Linked DNA regions of Homo sapiens: region 2 is linked to region 1. The links are contacts of gene promoters, found by promoter capture Hi-C in human tissues and cell types (Jung and others, 2019). All regions are on one chromosome and are shown on one strand. The core of a region is centred on a gene start or on the middle of the fragment in contact, and the rest is flanking DNA. Distances in the headings are between cores, read along the strand shown.

What was found. Contacts are between HindIII fragments. The study calls those that stand out against the background at their distance.
Region 2: a fragment that was not itself captured here is called in contact with the fragment with the promoter of TUFT1 in region 1 in 1 of the 25 tissues and cell types used here (liver).

What each region holds. Positions count from the first base shown.
Region 1 is chr1:151,537,556-151,543,052 of GRCh38, reverse strand. It overlaps TUFT1 (tuftelin 1), which reads right to left and starts at 2,744. Exons shown (of 13, transcript NM_020127.3): 1 at 2,627-2,744. The coding sequence starts at 2,686. It overlaps CGN (cingulin), which reads right to left. Exons shown (of 21, transcript NM_020770.3): 21 at 4,361-5,497. RefSeq lists enhancers at 1,937-2,451, 2,452-2,967, 3,483-3,999. The HindIII fragment of the contact is 14,328 bases long and covers 1-4,230 here.
Region 2 is chr1:151,378,693-151,384,189 of GRCh38, reverse strand. No RefSeq gene overlaps it. Among named protein-coding and RNA genes, the nearest start is that of SELENBP1, 8.7 kb to the right of the region's middle. The HindIII fragment of the contact is 4,780 bases long and covers 556-5,335 here.

The sequences.
Region 1 (5,497 bases), core at 1,495-3,994:
CAACAGAGTCCCAGGGCCCTCACTCCCAGTAGGATCTCTAATCAGTTCAACTGTCTACATTCTGACTCCGGAAGAAACATCTGTTCATTTATTTATTGACTCACTTTGCACATGAATTGAGCACCCATTCAGTGGTGTGAATATATGACAGATTCCTGGGGGTTGTCCAGAGCCATAAATTCTGTCTGCAAGTTGGCTCAGAGAAGAGGAATCCAGGACAAGGCCTGTGTCCCGACTGTTCACCATCTCCTCCCCTCCCTTAAGGGCCCAGGAATGTCTCCAAGATCAGATCTGGGCAATGATTACTTCATTCCCAGCTCTGGAGTAAAATAAGTCTCAAGTTCAGCCTAGAAAAAAGGAATAAAAGGGAATTTCTGTCTCTCCCTTGCTCTAGAGGTCTCTGGTTAGCTTCAAACTAACCTATGATGGAGACCATCTGAATTCCTTGTCCATTATTTTCTCTTAGTAATTTTTTCTGCCCCACCAGACAAAGAGCAAAAACATCAAGAAAGAGTAAAAGGGGCCAGATGTAGTGGCTCATGCCTGTAATCCCAAGCCTTTGGGAGGCCAAGGTGGGCAGACTGCTTGAGCCCAGGAGTTCGAGACTAGCCTGGGCAACATGGTGAAATCCCATCTCTACCAACAGAAAAAAAAAAAAAAAATTTTAGTCAGGTGTGGTGGCATGTGCCTACAGTCTCAGCTACTTGGGGAGACTGAGGTAGGAGGATCTACTGAAACCAGGAGGTGGAGGTTGCAGTGAGCTGAGATCATGCCATTGCACTCCAGCCTGGGCAACAGAGCAAGGCCCTGTCTCAAAAAAAGAGAAAAGAAAAGAGAAAAGAAAAGAAAGGAAGAAAGAAAAAAAATAGTAGAGGTTAATGATTCATTAACACTGCCAGTGCCAACTTGGTCTTAGACTTCTTTCCGGATCTCTTTTCTATATAGCAAGCAAGCAAAAAGCAGCCCAAACATCCCTCTCCTTTATTTATCTCATACCCTTTTCCCTCAACTATTCCAAAAGAGAGAGCAAGAGCATGGAAGAGAAGCTATAGGTGGTGTGCATCTGAAGTCCCAGCTACTCAGGAGGCTGAGGCAGAAGGATTGAGGCCAGGAGTTCAAGGCTGTGGTGTGCTATGATTGCACCCGTGAAGAGCCACTGTACTGCAGCTCCGGCAACATAGCAAGACACTCGTCGCTTAAAAACAAAGAGCAGGGAGTAGGACTTGTGGCTGACACATAATGGATAGATTTCTTCCATCTCTTCAGAGTCTCATAGCTGGGGATGTGGCAGGCTACAGAAGAATGGGGTTTGGGCAACTGGGGTTGGCCAATAGCAACATCTGTATTTTAATGTGGCAAAAACACTCATAGCCCAGGCAGAAATGGAGAGGGGACTGGGAAAAGAACTAAATGACCATCTGTATTCTAAACCTGAAATGAGTTTGAAGAAGAGCCATAATCTAGCTGCAGTTGGGTTAGCTCTACCTCAAGAGCAGGATGAGGCAGGCAGAGAGTAAGGGAGTCAGATGTGGGAGGGGGGATGATACACAAGTTCCCCATCACCTTAGTTTTCATTTCACTCCCACCCACAATAGCTTGGAAATTGATGAAATAGTACACACCTAATCTGGGTTAAGTTCCCCAAAAGAGCCTAGAAACACTCAGCCACAAATTACCCTCCTCAGCCTCTGGAGAGGAAAAACCATATGGTCAGCTAGGGTGGGGAGAACTGGGACTGGGAGCCAGAGAAAGAGGAGAGAGGGGTAGACCAGCCTGCACTGGAGAACGCCCCCTTTCTCCGCAACCCTCTCCCCGTCCAGAAGCCTTCGCTTGGGTCACTTCCCTCCCCTTCTCGGCCCGGGTTCTGCATCCCCTTCCTCCACTATCCCAGGGCCTGGCGGCTGGAGACGGAAGCAAAACTAACACACCGTCCCAGGAAGCTATCGGCAGGCAGATAGAGGGAGGAAAACAAGAGAACTACAAGGGGGAAGAAGGAGAAATCCAAGACAAGAGGTGACCCCCGGGCGGAAAGCCCTATCCCTTAGCGAAAGGTAGAGTCCCTAGCCAATCTCGGAATAGTTTGAGTCCTACCGTCCCCTACTTGCCCCCCGCCCTCCAGTCCAAGCCCTGTAATTTACTCTACCATTTTTCTTGTTACTGATCATCCAAAGCACCATGATGAAATTCTTTGGAGGGCCTCGGAGGTCACCAGGACCCTCGACCCACGGGAAAGCCTAAGCCTCCTCGGCAGGACACAACGTCCAAAGGCGCTCAGGGACCCAGTCGCTTGAGCTCATTCTCTTATGACCCAATGTGGCTGCCCAAAAGACGCCTGAGACCCGCGGCCCAAGCACGGGCTCGCCGGCGCCGAGTCCCAGGCAGGAGCCGCAGTGTCCTACCAAAGGGCAGGGACGCCCCGAACCCTCCAGCCTCAAAGGAGTCTTCACCCCGCGACTCCCACTGCCCGTCGCAGGCAAAAGAATAAAAAGAGAGAAGCGCCGCGCAGGGCTGACCGCGCGAGCCGGGCACCAGGTGATGTCAGCCAACACGGCGCGGGGCACGGAAGGGGCGGACTTAGAAACCGGGAATACAAAACGGAGAAGACAGCGAGAGCGCTTTTTCTTACCGCCGCCTGGTCCTCTGGGTGCACGTCCACCAGGGTACACCAGTTCCGCGTCCCGTTCATCTTCCCTCGGGGTCGCAGCACACACGCCACTTGTCCACCCCGCTGTCTGGCTCCAACTGGGCGGGCGCGCGCGGAACCGCCCCCTTGTATAGGCCCATCAGGGGCGGGGCTGAAGATAGGCCGCGCCCCCAGTTCGCGGTTTCGCAGAGAACTAACGATAGGCGAGGAGGTGAGGTGGGCGGAGCCAATGGGTCTGGGACATGCCCCATCGGTGCTCGCATAGATTTACACAAAGGTGGGGCTTGGGAGCGACATGGGGCTGCTTTAACTGAACAGCTTTATCTGGAGTATGTGGTTGCACATTCTTCATTAATCTTGTCGCTTTCCATCTTTCCAAGATCAGTGTTGGTCAGAGGGAATCACCCTGCCTGCTCCTAGTGGATGAGGAGTTGGAACCTGCAAAAGCTTCCTTCCATACATGCTCCTCTCCCTATACGTAAGCCACCTGTAGGCTTTGTGGAGCTGAGTAAACCTTTCCTCCACCGCAGAAAGGCAGGCACCAAGGTCCAGCTCACTCAGACTGGCCTAAGCCAGTCTGGCAGGTGCACTTCCTTGGCAAGAGGCCCAGGAGGCCCAGTCAGCTTAGGCTCTGGGTGGGGCTTGTTTTGCAGAAGCTCTTTTACTGACGCTGCCCTTATATAGTTGGGAGAGGCGGGACACATTGCCTTAAAAGGAATTTGTGTTCGTGAGAAAGGATGAGCCTTGACTTTTCCAGTTGCATTTTCTCCCCAAGCCTAGGCTGGGATCTTGAGGGCCTAGAAGAGAGGGTTGGCCAAGCAGGACCCTGGAGCTTCGTCCCCGCCCAGCTGCTCTTGGCAGATGGCTTCTTCACTTGGCTGTGGTCCACAGAGACAGCAGACAGAATACTTTAGGAGGAGGTCTGACCCACTCCTGAAGGGATAGTACTCCTATACCTGGCAATAGGCTCTAGTGAAGGGCCAGCTCCCTCTTCAAGGCAACACTAGGGCAGGAACAGCAGAAATGTCCCTACCTCCCAGTTAGGGACTGGGTCCTATGTCAGTTAGGAATGAATGAGGATTTTTCTACCTGGGAAGTGAATGCTGGGGTTATCACTATGACCCAAGGGAATAAAACCCAGTTCTGGTCTGTTCTACTCTAACCCTCAAAAAGGCATTTACTGCTGGCCAGGCGCAGTGGCTTATGCCTGTAATCCCACCACTTTGGGAGGCCGAGGTGGGCGGATCACAAGGTCAGGAGTTTGAGACCAGCCTGACCAACACAGTGAAACGCCATCTCTACTAAAAATACAAAAATTAGCTGGGTGTGGAGGCACGCGCCTGTAATCCCAGCTACTCAGGAGGCTGAGGCAGGAGAATCGCTTGAACCCGGGAGGCAGAGGTTGCAGTGAGCTGAGATCATGCCATTACACTCCAGCCTGGGTGACAGAGTGAGACTCCGTCTCAAAAAAAAAAAAAAAAAAAAGGCATTTACTGTCCTTGTTCTTCCCAGAAGGTTGTTCAGGAGAGAAGAGAATGGGGCTGCTATAAACATCTCCAGGTTTCGTAGGTCCCATCTGCTCTGTTCTAAAGGGCCTCTGAAAAGTCAGGTGAAGAAAACTCCAGCTTCGGCTCCTAAGCTGTACAGTTAATATGACTTCATAAAATCTGGACCTCCAAATATGCCAAGAAAAAGAATGAGAAGACAAACCAAGGATTTCAATATAAATGTGTAATTTTAATATTTAATTTAAAATAAAACCAAGGCTGGATTGGATTGGGAAAGAACGTTTGATTTGCAGAAGAATATAGGAATTTTTTTAATCACGACATTACAAGTCATTTGTGAAAACAGCCTTCCTCCTGCCACCGGCTCCCTATACAACCTGCTTAGGAAATATGGAGGTGAATCATCCCCCTTACCTCTTCCCTACCAGGGCTTGGTTCTCCCCAAAATCCAAAGGAGAAATAAATGTCTTCCGTTGCCTCTTCCCATTTTTACAGTCAGCTTCTAACCCCTTGCAAAGCCCTGAATCAGAGCCAAGCACCTCAGAAAATGAGGGTCCCTTGGTTCTCTTATTGAAGTTGGGCACATGTGGTCAGAGAAGCCCCAAGGAAGGCCACAGGGACTGACACCTTTACTTTTGGAATTTGTGCAGCCAGTTGTCAGGGCTCCCAGGTGCAACCACCTTATAACCATATCCACAGTCACAGAGGAGGGAGAGGAGGAAGGATGAAAACCCTGAGCAGGACCAGACCCCCGCCACTTTATCATGACCCTACCAAAGTCCCTCTCCCAGGGGTCATTGGCAGAGAAACCCCAACAGCTCTCTCAATCAATCACTGGGGCAGCAGGGAAGGCTGAGGGCCCTGGCTGGGGAAAAGCTGGTCTTTGGAGAGGTATGAATGTGCAGATATAAAAAGCAAGAAGAGCATCCTTATCTCCTTGCCTTGGCTAAGGCACTGACAGGAAAAATGCAAGGTAGGAATGGCAAAGAGGGGAAAGGAAGAAGACAAAAATATAGGAACTGGAGGGGTATGGGGACTACCACATGGGCCCCATACTTGTGCAAAGAAATGGGTAGAGCCATGCCTGCATGTCTGTTACCCATAACATTCCCCTCACCCTGCTCCAGAGTGGAAGGAAAATGAGTTGCAGGAATCCAGGGAGCACAATAACATAGGGTATTTCCCTGAGCCTTAGGGTTAAGGGCTAAAGAATAAAGCTTTATACACATGGCAATTTCTATCCCTTCCTATCCTTCTCAGTCCCCATCAGCCTAATGCTGACCATCCTTCCACTATAAGAGAGATGAGGGAGGTGTCGGCACTTGAGGAAAAGGCTCAGTTGGCT
Region 2 (5,497 bases), core at 1,696-4,195, 160 kb after region 1:
ACGGACCTCACTACTCACAGTTGACTTCAGGCAATTTATGAAACCTCTCTGTGACTTAGTTTCCTTATCTGTAAAATGGAGCTAATAATAGTGCCTAGATCTATGTGTTTGCTGTGAAGATGGGTTAACACTTGCAGGACTCGTCACACGCTGGGTATCATTACCCGTCTTTCACTGTACAGTGAGACCCTTTGTCAGAAGTGGTAACTCAGTGTGGGGCACTGTGATAGTGTATGAGACATCCAGGATGTCTATAGATGGTGGTGGTGGCAGTATCGGGTCAGAGAACGCAAATCCAAACCTAGAAATATGAAACTGCCTTCTAAAGAGAATGCGTTTCTGCTCCCTCCATGTTGGCAGACAGTAGTGGAAACAACCCTTCCCCAGGTGGTGGACTGTTGTGGTAGCTTCTGTGTCTTCAGCAGTGGCTCCAACTGGGCCTGACTCAGAAAGAGGAGGTCCATGCTGGCAAGGCCATGTGCAGCCTCTGCTCTAGCCACCACAACCTCTTTGTTCATGGAATATCAGTGAGAAAACAATGACATCCACAGAACAGGTTCGCCTCACCCTCCATCGTCACGAGCATCCTCCAGGGAGAGGGCCTGCTGGTTGAATGGCTACACTAGACACAAATATTCTTGCATTCTGGGCTCTTTCTGTGAGGTCCATTCACAGGCCTTCTTCCCAAACCCCCTTTCACCAGCCCTTTGATTTTGTTCTATCCAAGTCTGTCCACCCAGCAAAGCATGGGCCCTGCTCATGAGTCAGGGCAGACCCTCAGGCTGCGTCTCCTCCAAGGCAACGTGTCCAATGCAATGACAGTAACTTCGAAGGCCGTCTTTCAAAACAGCTTTATTATTATTTTTTTAATAAAGAGGCATTTCTAATTATCTGCAATTTAATAAAAAGACCACTCATTTTCTTTCCTTTCTTCTTCCAGAGACAGGGTCTTGCTCTGTCACCCAGGCTGACATGCAGTGGCGCCATCAGCTCACTGTAACCTCAAACTCCTGAGCTCAAGGAATCCCATGCACCAGCCTCCCAAATAGCTAGGACTACAGGTGTGCCCCACCATGCTGGCTAATTTTTTTTTTTTTTTTTTTTTAGAGATGCAGTCTCTCTATGTTGCCTAGGCTGGTCTCAAACTCCTGACCTCAACTGACCCCCTGCCTTGGCATCCCAAAGCACTGGGATTACAGGAGTCAGCCACCACACCCAGCCTGAAAGTGAAAATCACAATTAGAAAATTCTATGTTTAAAAACTTACATTTTCAGCCGGGCACAGTGGCTCATGCCTATAATCCCAGCACTTTAGGAGGCCGAGGCGGGTGGATCACCTGAGGTCAGGAGTCCAAGACCAGCCTGGCCAACATGGTGAAACCCCACCTTTACTAAAAATACAAAAAATTAGCCAGGTGTTGTGGCACGAGCCTGTAATCCCAGCTACTTGGGAGGCTGATGCAGGAGAATCGCTTGAACCTGGGAGGCGGAAGTTGCAGTGAGCCAAGATCACGCCACTGCACCCCAGCCTGGGCAACAAGAGCGAAACTCAAAAAACAAAACAAAAAAACACAAAACATTAAATTTACCATCTTAACCATTTTTAAACGTATAGCTCAGTAGTGTTAAGTATTTCACACTGTTGTTCAACAGCTCTCTAGAACTTTCTCAGAAGGGCTGTATTGCTGCAACAACAACAACACAGCGTATGTTAGGTTCTGGGTGCTTTTCGAAGAGCTTTATGTATATCATCATGCAATTTTCAAAACACCCTATGAGGGGAATAGATATTTTATTTTCTCTCTTTTAGAGATGAGGAAACCGAGGTACAGAGAGGTTAAATTACTTGCCCAGATTCATAAAGCTAGTAACTGGTGGAAGTGGAATTCACACACACAGTCTGGTTCTAAAATTCTTGTTGTTAATCTCTTAATAATAGACCACTTCTGGCTGATGATGGTGTATAGTGGAGAGCCAGCCACCTGTAACCCAGCCTAGAATGTTTTTCTTCTCTGTAGTCTTCATGTATAACTTCTAAAGCTCTTAGGGTGGACTGAGGGGAGAGGGTATTGGCAAGACAGGGCTAGCCAGGCGACTCCGCAGCTTCTCTCTGCTGTTGGCAGCTTCACTCTCAGGGTTCCTTTCGGGCTCAACCCAGTTCTACTTAAGGATGATGAGCTCCTGGGCTTGGTTCCTGGGCTAGCTAGGTGGATCAGATAATCCCCAGTTCATAAGGAGGCTTGAGTCAAAGGCCACCTGGTGTCCCATCCTCTCATGTTTGGTTTCTCTTGGGACCCAGAAGCTCAGAAGAGGCTGTTTTTCAAGAGAACTGTTCTTTGCTGAAGTGGGCTGGGCTCAATCATTTGGGGTCACCCTGGGGACTCTCCTTCTGCCTCTTGCCTGCCTCATCCCATGGATCACCCCAACTCACCAAGCATCACTGGATCTGCTCGATCATAAGGCCCCAGTGGCAGAAGTGGTTGCAGCCAGAGAGCCCTTTCTTGTCCTAGATCCCAATCAAAGGACACTGCCTCTACCCCTCAAGTTCTATGTGCTGCCATGGCACCACCAGCTGCGCTGGACCCTGGGAGGTTCTGCAGCATGGTGACCCACCCGCACACCAGCCTTCCCTGCAGCAACCAGAACCCACTCCCTACTTCCTTGTGTTGGAGTCTCCGGTGGGCACACCTGGCTGCGTCCAAGACCAAGTCACATGCTTGCTCCTAGCAGCAAGGAGGCCTAAGGCCTGGGACGGTGAGTATCTGGCCTTTTGCCTCCCACCCAATATAGAAAGGGCTGAATGTGCTGGCCAGCCATCCAAGCAACAAAACACAAAAGCATTCTGTCTGAAGGGGCTGCGAACTTATGTGCATAGAGGTCCCAGGCCAGAGCCTGAAGCTACTGCCTGGCTTCAGATCCTGGGCTCTGCTACTCACTAGCTGTGTAACTTTGTATGAGTTGCTTCCTCTTTCTATGCTGTAACTTCTTTATCTGTAAATTGGACATAATGAAAATACCCACTTCATAGGGATGTTGTAAACCCTGTATAAGTAAAGGCAGAACATGCAAATAGCTCAGAGAAGTACTTGGCACATGGAAAGCTTTTATATGAGGTGGATGTGGTTCATTTCTCTTTCTTTATCCCTAAGTACTTCGAACAGTACCATGTATTTAATAAATGATAGCTGTTGTTATTTTATTATTACAGTTTGGGTATCCCTTATCCAAACTGCTTGGGACCAGAAGTGTTCCAGATTTCAGATTTTTTTCAGATTTTGGAATACATATATATATATTAAAATATCTTGGGGATGGGACCCAAGTCTAAACGCAAATTTATTTGTGTTTCATAAACACCTTATACACATAGCCTGAAGGTAACTTTATACAATATTTTAAATAATTTGTACATGAAACAAAGTCTTGACTGTGACCCAACACGTGAGGTCAGGCACGCAATTTGCTACCTGTGGTGTCACACTGGTGCTCAAAACATTTCAGATTTTGGAGCATTTTGGATTTCAGATTTTCAGATTAAGGATGCTCAACCTGTACCTATATCTTTTTTCTTTTTTTTTTTTTTTTTTAGACAGAGTCTCCCTCTGTCGCCCCAGGCTGCAATGCAGTGGTGCAATTTTGGCTCGCTGCAACCTCCACCTCCCAGGTTCAAGTGATTCTCCTGCCTCAGCCTCCCAAGTAGCTGGGATTGCAGGTGTGTGCCACCACGCCAGGCTAATTCTTATACTTTTAGTAGAGACAGGGTTTTGCCATGTTGGCCAGGCTGGTCTCGAACTCTTGACCTCAGGGGATCCACCTGCCTCAGCCTCCCAAAGTGCTGGGATTACAGGCGTGAGCCACCGCCTCAACCTGTACCTGTTTCTTGCCTACTTGTGCAGGTATTTCCATGGGATTGCATCCTTGAAGTGAAATTCCTAGGTAAAACAGTATGCACAGTTTAACTTTTGTGAGGTATTGACAAATTGTTTTTGTTAGTAAGGCACCAATTGACACTCTCATTAGTCCTAAATGAGTGGTCCCTTTGCCGCATAGTCTCACCAATACAAGATTTTAACCTTTAAATTTTTTGCCCATCTTATAGGCAAAAATGTTACTGTATTCTTTCACTGTTTCAATTGTTTACACATGTATTTCAAACTTAATATAAAATTTTAAAAATATGATTGATACATAATGTGAAAAATAAAAATTGCTCCCTGTAATCCAATTCTTGAGGTAACCACTGTTAGCTACATTTGGCATGATAAGGGAAGCTTTATCTCTACAAATCCTTTTCTTTAGGTTTTTTTTTTTTTTTTTAAGCGGAGTCTTGCTCTGTCGCCCAGGGTGGAGTGCAGTGGCACGATCTCAGCTCACTGCAACCTCCACCTCCCGGGTTCATGCCATTCTCCTGCCTCAGATTCCCAAGTAGCTGGGACTACAGGCGCCTGCCACCATGCCCGGCTAATTTTTTTTTTTTTTTTTTTTTTTGTATTTTTAGTAGAGATGGGGTTTCGCTGTGTTAGCCAGGATGGTCTCGATCTCCTGACCTCGTGATCCGCCCGCCTCGGCCTCCCCAAGTCCTGGAATTACAGGAGTGAGCCACCACGCCCGGCCTACTTTTTTTTTTTTTTGAGACAGCGTCTCACTCTGCCACCCAGACCAGAGTGCAGTGGTGCAATCACAGCTCACTGCAGCCTCGACCTCCAGGGCTTAAACAATCTTCCCACCTCAGCACACCTTCCCCACCCCCGAAGTAGCTAGGACTACAGGAGCCTGCCAGGCCTAAATTGTTTTAATTTTTTGTAGAGACGGTGTCTCATTATGTTGCCCAGGCTGGTCACAAACCCCTGGGCTCAAGCAATCTGCCTGCCTCAGCCTCCCAAAATACTGACATCAATCATAAGCCAAATCCTTTTCTATGAACGTATAGATGGATGAATAAATAAATAAATATAAATTTAACTAGTTAAAACTATATAGCTTAATTTTTATGTAGTTTTAATTAAAATGAGGCTGGGCACAGTGGCTCACACCTGTAATCCCAGTACTTTGAGAGGCTGAGGCAGGCAGATCAAGACCAGCCTGGCCAACATGGCGAAACCCCATCTCTACTAAAAATACAAAAAAATTAGCCTGGCTTGGTGGTACATGCCTGTAATCTCAGCTACTTGGGAGGCTGAGGCAGAAGAATTGTTTGAACCCGGGAGGCGGAGGTTGTAGTGAGCCAGGATGGCACCACTGCACTCCAGCCTGGGTGACAGAGCGAGACTCTTGTCTCAAAAAATAAAAAATAAAATGAAATGAGATTATACTTTCTGGTTTCCCCCACCCCTCCACCGTATTTATTGATATCCTTCTGTGTTGGTATATAGAAAACTACACATTAAGGTGCTTGGTGTTTCATACTATGGATGTTCCATAATATATTTCACCATTCTGCTATTGGTTGTTTCCAACCTTTCACTATTAAGAACATTGTTGCAATGAACATCCTATA